2 separate regions of the Homo sapiens genome follow, and region 2 is linked to region 1. Evidence: promoter capture Hi-C in 16 types of primary human blood cells and fetal thymus (Javierre and others, 2016). All regions are on one chromosome and are shown on one strand. The core of a region is centred on a gene start or on the middle of the fragment in contact, and the rest is flanking DNA. Distances in the headings are between cores, read along the strand shown.

Region 1 (3,644 bases), core at 572-3,071:
ATGATGTGTGGAGGAGAATGGGGAGGAGGAAGCACTTACAAAGGGGAAGTAGCCTGTACCCTGTCCTTCTCCCCCAGGTGTGGGGAATCCATGAAATAATGGAAGTAAATGAAGGTGCGTCAGAAATGGCAGAGGGTGCCATCACCCTAAATGGACGACACATTAACTCCAGGGCACCGCAGTCCTCAGGGTCAGTTCCCCGACTGGGGCAACTAAGCAACTGAAGGTTGCTCTTGTACTCAACACCTAACTCTTCTTGAAGGGAGCTCAAGCCAGGATGCTAGTGAACTTGGCTGAGGGCCATGTCGTGCTACAGCGAGGGTATGGGCTCCTGGATAGGAATCGAGCCCATGGAGAGCTTGGAATCCAGAAAAAGAGTAGTTTTTACTTACTTTAGGCTCTGCACACCTAAAACACAAATTTTATCCAAGAGTAATCAGTTGAAACATGAACTTGCCGGTTGTATTTGTCCATTATGAGCAATTTCACAAGGTTTGATCAAATAATAAACTAAATGGTGAGAAGGCAGCTTGGTAAAGTCTAAATCTTTTTGGTCCAGTTAGGAGCTGGGGTGGGGTGGAAGGGAACTGATATTCCCTGCGCACCTGCAGTATGTCTGGGACTATTACCAGTCATTTACGGAGCGCTTCCTCTGTGCCAGGTACTGGATTAGGCACTTCATTAAAGGCTCAGTGAGAACTGCGACCTGCCCATGCTCATGGAAAAGAGTCGTGGGGCTGGAATTCAGGTCCAGATCAGCATTAGGAACTAGCTTCCAAATGCTGAGGGCTCCCTCGCGTCCTCACACCTAGCGTGGAAGTGTTCCCTGGTGTACATTCTGCTGGGAGGGAGTGCAGCCCCTCCATTTAGGAAAAGCCTCTCCTGGCCTGGGTTCTGTTCCTTCCCTTTAATTTCCTCTGGGGACTGTCCTGAGAATGTAAGCTGCCCAGGTGCCGTCTGAGCCACCAGATGGGCCTGGGCTCACCCATGACTCATGGACCAGACTGAAGCCAACCCTCCATTTTCAGCTGGGGAAACTGAGGCCCAGACAGACGGTAGAGTGAGCTGGTGGTCATGTCTGGACAGAACTCAGGCCTCTGGACCCGCTGACGTGCACCCTTCCCCACGGCTCACAGCTGGCTGCTCCGAGGTGCCCTCAGAGTTCTGTGAGCATGACTCATCTGCCTCTCCCTCCCTGTGCGACCTGCAGAAGGAGCCTAAGGAAGAGGTGGCACAAGAAACGCGGCCCAGTGAAGGGGGCTCCGGAGCCTCGGAGCCCAGATCTTGAAGTGGAGGGGAAACCTTGGGCCTTCTCCTCCCAGGGAAGACGCCTTGCAGGCGGCACGCGGGAAGTCTCCGTTTCCGACAGGGGTCGCGGCCGCCGCGAGGGGTCCTGGACGCTTGCCCACCAGGGTACCCACCGGCCACTGGGAGCCCAGGGCACGCCCCACCGCAGTTCTGCCCTCCCTGACAGGGTCCTGGACACCCCCAGTCCTGTCCGGGCCGCCCCGACGGGCCCTCGGCGCCCCCGCCCAGGCCTCTGCCGTCCAAACCGGGTCCCGGACGCACCTCAGCCCGCGCTCCACCCGTGCCCCGCCCGCGCTCACCGCGCCACGCTCGAAGTCGTTGTAGAAGGGCTTGTCCAGCAGGTGCTTCTCGCTGCAGCCCGCCGAGCCCACGAGGCTGAGGTAGATGTAGTCGTCAGTGCCGGCGAACCACTGGCTGCCAGTGGCCACGGTGACCGTGTAGGAGGGCATGGCGCGGGCCGCGGGAGCAGCGAGCGCCGGGAGCCTCGGCGCGGCGGTCCAGGTGTCCGCATCTAGCGCCGCAGCCTCCTCCCACCACTGGTCCCTGGCCCCGGTCCCGGCCCCGCCCCGGTCTGGCTCCAGGCTCCCGGCTGCCCCCGCCCCCGCCCCCGCCCCCGCCCCCGCCCCCGCAGTACTTCTCTCCCACTCTTCACGCGGCGCCGACTGGGCGGGACCTCGCCTCGGGCGGGGCAGGGGCCTCGCTCCTGGGTCTCTCCTCAGCGAGGTGTCTGTTCCTGCAGCCAGGGGACTGGGGCAACCTCGGCTGCCACCCCTCATCCATTCGTTCACTCGTTCTCTCCTGAATTGCTTCCACCCTTTGCCCTGCCTGCCTGCCTCGGCTTCGCCCAAGGCCAGGCTCCTGTAGGCCCTGGGGTGGAGCTGCGGGGACTCCCTACAAATCTAGGCACAGCCTCTGCTCTCCCCAAGTTCTCAGTGCCACTTGCGGTACTTGGAGCAGGGGTGCTCCGGGAGTCTGCAGAGGAAGAGCGACCCATGAGAGAATCAGAAGGGCTTCCTGGAGGAGGCCACCCCAGCGCTGATACTGAGGATGGATTCTGGAGCACAGAGGCTCCTTCAGCGCGGGCTTCTTCACTGGCTGGACCTGCGGCTCCTGGCGGGGGCAGGCGGGCGCCGAGACCGCGCCCAGGCCCAGAGATGGCCAGTGGTCGCGGGAGGCAGGCGGGACGGCACATCTGGACATGCGGGGCTGTCTAGGGGAGGCCAGGGGTCACGGGTCGGCTCTCTGAATCGCGGCGGGCAAATGCCTGGAAGGGTGTGGAGAAGGTTTCGCGCGCTCCTGGGCGGCTTCCCGCGGCTGGGGCCTGACCCCCAGGTTCCCGCCCACTCCTGGCGCCCGCCTCTCCCAGCCCCGCCGGCAGCGCAGGGTCTGACGGGCACACAGTCGCGTGTATTGATCTCGGCTAAGTTTAAACACTAGCTCACCGTGCGTGGGGCGGCGGGGATGTGAAGTCCCCAAAGGCGGCTGCCTACATTCTCACCAACGCTTCATGTCTGTGAAGCAGCAGAGTCCCTGTAGCATCTCCTCATACTGTCTTGGGTTTGTGCACCTGGCAAATGGCTTTGAACATCTTTTCACATGCTTGTTGGATATCTGTATATTTTTGGAGAGATGTATATTCAGATGCTTGACTCTTTGGAAAACTGGGCTATTTATCTTTTTTATCATTGAATTGCATTATTTATATATCCTGGATAGAAGTCTCTAATCGGATACATGACTTACAGACATTTTTATTGCTTCTGCGGGTTGTGTTTTCACTTTCTTGATGATGTTTGAAGCACAAAAGTATTTAACTTTAAGTCCAATTTCTTTTGTCGCTTGTGATTTTGGGGTCCTATCTGAGAAACCACTGCCTACAATAACATCTTAAAGATTTACTCCTAGGTTTTCCTCTAGGATTATTATAGTTTTAGCTTTTCATTTACATCCGTGACCCATTTTGAGTTAGTTTTTATGCATGGAGCGATAGAAGAATTCAAATTCATTGTGTTGCATGTGCATGTCCGGTTGTCCATGCATCATTTGTTGAATTCATTATTCTTTTCCCATTGCGTTGTCTTGACACCTTATTAAAAAGTAATTCATTATAAACATAACGGTTTATTTCTGGACATTGATTCTAGTCCACTGATCTGTAATGTACATGCTATACAGTGCCACACTGCTTGATTACCGCAGTGCTATAGTAAGTTTTGAAATTGGAAAATGTTAATCCACCAACGCTGTTCTTTATTTTTCAATATTGTTTTGGTTATTCTGGATCCTTTGAGATTCCATATAAATTATAGAATCAGCTTGTCAATTTCAGCCAAAAA
Region 2 (3,644 bases), core at 325-2,824, 2.2 Mb after region 1:
TTTCACCATGTTTGCCAGGCTGGTCTCGAACTCCTGACCAAGTGATCCACCTGCCTCGGCCTCCCCAAGCGCTGGGATAAAAGGCCTGAGCCACCACGCCAGGCCCACAGTATTCTTAATATCCAAAACACATCATATACAAAAATTGGGAACATAAATGTCCATCAACTGAAGAGTAGTCACATATTATTCAATAGACTATTACACAGTAATAATACAATACCATGAAATAGCATGGGTGTGTCCCACAAACAATATGCTGAGAATACTACGTGATTCCATTAACATGAAGCTCAAAACAGAGAAAACTAAAAGCAGATAAGAGAAGTTAGAATACAGATGGGAAAACAAGGATATAACTGACTTGGAAGAAGCACAGGAAAATAGGATGATGGAAATGTTCTATGGTTATAATTTGATATATCTGGTGGTTCCACAGGGTAATAAGTATGTAAAAATTCATTGAGCTGTACAATTAAGATTCGTGCTCTTATTGATTTCATATGTATTTTATGCCTCGACAAAAACAAAGAGAAAAATGCAGCTTCTAAACTGGTTGGAACTGTGTTTATTTAGGCCAAAATCCTCTGAGCCACAAATACTGGAAATCCATCTTTTTTCATTCTTTTAGTTACATGACAACTTTAAACAAATGGTACAAGAACAATAATACAAAATGAACGCTAACACTCAGTCCTAAAATACTTGGCTTCTTACTTCCAAGATCGAAGCTACTATTTTAATACAACATTCAAAAAACAACATTAATTACCAGACATGAAGGCCCTGCTCCCGCGAGCCTTGAATGACGGTGAAACGTCACGACATCCCATATCTATCTCAAAAGCACGCTAGAAAATACCTCCAAGTTTAACAAGCCAAGGACTCAGGAAGAGAAGCTTCAGATGTATAATCAAACTATCATACCGCCAATACCATCATCACAAACAGAAGTATCACTGTCGTGCTTCCTGCGTTGCTCAAGGGTAGAGTCATTTTTAAGGTGCATTCTCCGACAACGCCAGAGGCTCCCCATCTCCTCCGCCCCACTGAGCCCTCCACGACAGAGCATCTTTACCGGCGCTCGCTCTGCCATCTACAGATAAAGAGGGGCTGAGGGCAGAACTATTTTAACGCGATGACGAGGTCACCACTGATTAAAAAGTTTATCCACTGAGAGGAGCAGAGATGGTGATGAATAGGTAAAAACAAAACGAAACAAAACAAAACCCAACACTGACAAGCGAACCAATCGTCTCTGGCCGCGCTTTCCCTAAAACCGGTGCCGACTCCGGCAGGCTCATCCCTGAGAGACAGGGCCCCCCGCAGGACCGGTCCGCTAGGCGACCCCACCCGACCACACAGGAGCCCGCAGCCCCGGCGCCCGCACCGCCCGGGCCGGAGCCGGCGGGAGTCGCGGACCGGCGGGCGAGGCCGGGCCAGGTACTCACCGCGCTCGCCCGCTCTGCGCTCCACCGCCTCCTGCGCCGCGGGGACACCCGGGCGGCGCCTCACGCCTTGGGCCCGCCGCCGCCTCAGCCACCCACCCCCGGGCGCGCCGCCGCGCCTGAGAGGCCACTTCCGGCGCGCGCGAGGAAATGAAGCCGCCGCGCGCCCGCGGCCCCGCCCAGGAAGCTCCGCCACTGGCAGCTGGGTACCGATTCATCACCGACGTGTTTAAAGTATCCGTGTGTGTGCCTCCAAAAACCGTTTGTGGAGACAGCAGAGTGCCCGAGGCAGGAAACCGCTCCGGCCTGGAGGCGCCCCTGCCCGGACTCGTGGACTGCAGCGCTGTCCCGCTCGGAAGCCGATCCTGGGAGTCCGAGCGGGGCCGCGGGGCCTGCGTGGCAGCCGAGTCGAGGGCTTCGGGCCGCGGGGCTGTGGAGCGCCCCTTGGCGCTGGGCCGCCGGCAGCCGTGAGCGCATCACTGCATTTCCCTGGAGGAATTCCTCATCTGTTGAATGAGGGAGTTGAGGCGGACACGCTGGGAAATGGCTTCGAGCTCACACACTGATTTTCGTGAGTGGAAAGAGAAGCCCTTTCTTAGGCGTCTTCCATACCACTGCATGTTCCAGGGTCCTCCCTGGGCTCTCTGTCTCCCACGCCACCGCGAGCACGGCCTAAGCGGGCGAGCGAAGGCGCGACGGCGCCGAGAGCCGGCTGTGGTGGGTGCCGGGCGCGTCACCGCGGGCTGGCGGGGGAGGGGACGCTGGGAAGCTCTCCAGAAAGAGGAGCCGCCACCGAGCAAATTCCCATCTGCCACGCACCGCAGAGCCTCGCCCTCCGCCGCCAGCATTTTCTTTCTTTGTTCTCCTAGCCCTACAAACGCTGGGTTTCCTTTCTCATTCGTGGACTTTTTTCCCTGGATCCTTCTTACTGCTCCTACCCTGTGGCCGCACGTCTGGCAGATGCGCGGCGGGCGCTGCCTGAACCCCCGAATCCTCACAAGCCTCTGTGCAGCGGCCACGGCCCTCAGCTAGCGGCGGGGAGACTGAAGCCGCAGGGTCAGGGTTAGTTGCCACATGTTTTAAATTCCTATCCAAACTTCCATTATAATTGTTTTTATTTATTTATTCATCTATTTTTTGAGACAGGGTCCCGCTCTGTCGCCCAGGCTGGAGTGCAGTGGAGCGATCACGGTTCACTGCAGCCTCCCCACCTCCGACTCCAGCGATCCTCTCGCCTCAGCCTCCCGAGTAGCTGGGACCACAGGTGCATGCCACCATGCCCGGCTAATTGTTAATATTTTTTTTGGTAGAGATGGGGCCTCCCTCTGTTGCCTAGGCTGGCCTTGAACTCCTGGGCTCAAGCGATCTTCCAGCTTCGGCCTCCCAAAGTGCTGGCATTACAGGCGTGAGTCACCCCGCCTGGCAAGAATTGTTGTTTTGAAACTAACTGAGGTTCTCCCATCAATGGATTTAAATTGTTACTTTTTAATGATTTTTTTTTAAGTAGCCAAATACTAAATGTATGTAATTTGAATGTGGAGAGAAGATAATGCATGATTCAAATTATGTGGCTGATCATGGGTGATACACTGGGATATAGTTGTAAAATAAGTAGTTCTCCTAGGGAAAATATTAAAGTACAACTGTGTTGGGTTTAATATCAGAAAAATGTAATTAAAAACATTTCCTGCCAATAATTTCCAATCTGATACTTAAACAAAACAAAACAATAAAAGTTTCCCATCTCTTTCGGGCCTTTTAAATTTCTACCAAAAGTAAGTGATGCTGGCTGATTCCCCTGCTATAGCAAGTTGTGAATAAATAGCCTTTGCTGGTTTCCACAGTTTTCCTGGTGATCCCATGGTAAGTCTGTACTGCTTGTCCCTGAGGTCCCCAGGCTTCCACCCATTGTGCCACCCAGAGGCCCCTCATGCCTCCATGTTCTCGGCCTATCAGGTGCGCCGATGTGGTCAGCACTAGGGCTCACCTCACTCTGCGTGGAGGTCTCTGGCTATTTATTCTCAGTTTGGTACTCTGGTTTTGTTATTGATTCTCATTTGTCTGGCATCTCTAGTGGAATCAGGCCATTCTTTTTATCCCTTTTCACTGTATTTTGTGTTAGTGTTTAGTGTTGTGCTGTCAAAAAGTGCTGCTTGTCATAAGAAGGAAAACCGTAGGAAAGGACACAGGCATGGG

What was found. Contacts are between HindIII fragments. The CHiCAGO score rates a contact against its expected background, and 5 or more counts as called.
Region 2: a contact is called between the fragment with the promoter of CSGALNACT2 here and the fragment with the promoter of ALOX5 in region 1, in 1 of 17 cell types (M0 macrophages). The highest score is 5.5, in M0 macrophages.

The regions. Positions count from the first base shown.
Region 1 is chr10:45,372,393-45,376,036 of GRCh38, reverse strand. It overlaps ALOX5 (arachidonate 5-lipoxygenase), which reads right to left and starts at 1,821. Exons shown (of 14, transcript NM_000698.5): 1 at 1,608-1,821. The coding sequence starts at 1,757. RefSeq lists enhancers at 834-1,442, 1,443-2,053. The HindIII fragment of the contact is 7,754 bases long and covers 1-3,644 here.
Region 2 is chr10:43,136,375-43,140,018 of GRCh38, reverse strand. It overlaps CSGALNACT2 (chondroitin sulfate N-acetylgalactosaminyltransferase 2), which reads right to left and starts at 1,574. Exons shown (of 8, transcript NM_018590.5): 1 at 1,452-1,574. CSGALNACT2-DT (CSGALNACT2 divergent transcript) reads left to right here and starts at 1,626. Exons shown (of 1, transcript NR_186456.1): 1 at 1,626-3,195. RefSeq lists silencers at 1,038-1,107, 1,218-1,717, 1,888-1,947, 2,078-2,277. The HindIII fragment of the contact is 5,511 bases long and covers 902-3,644 here.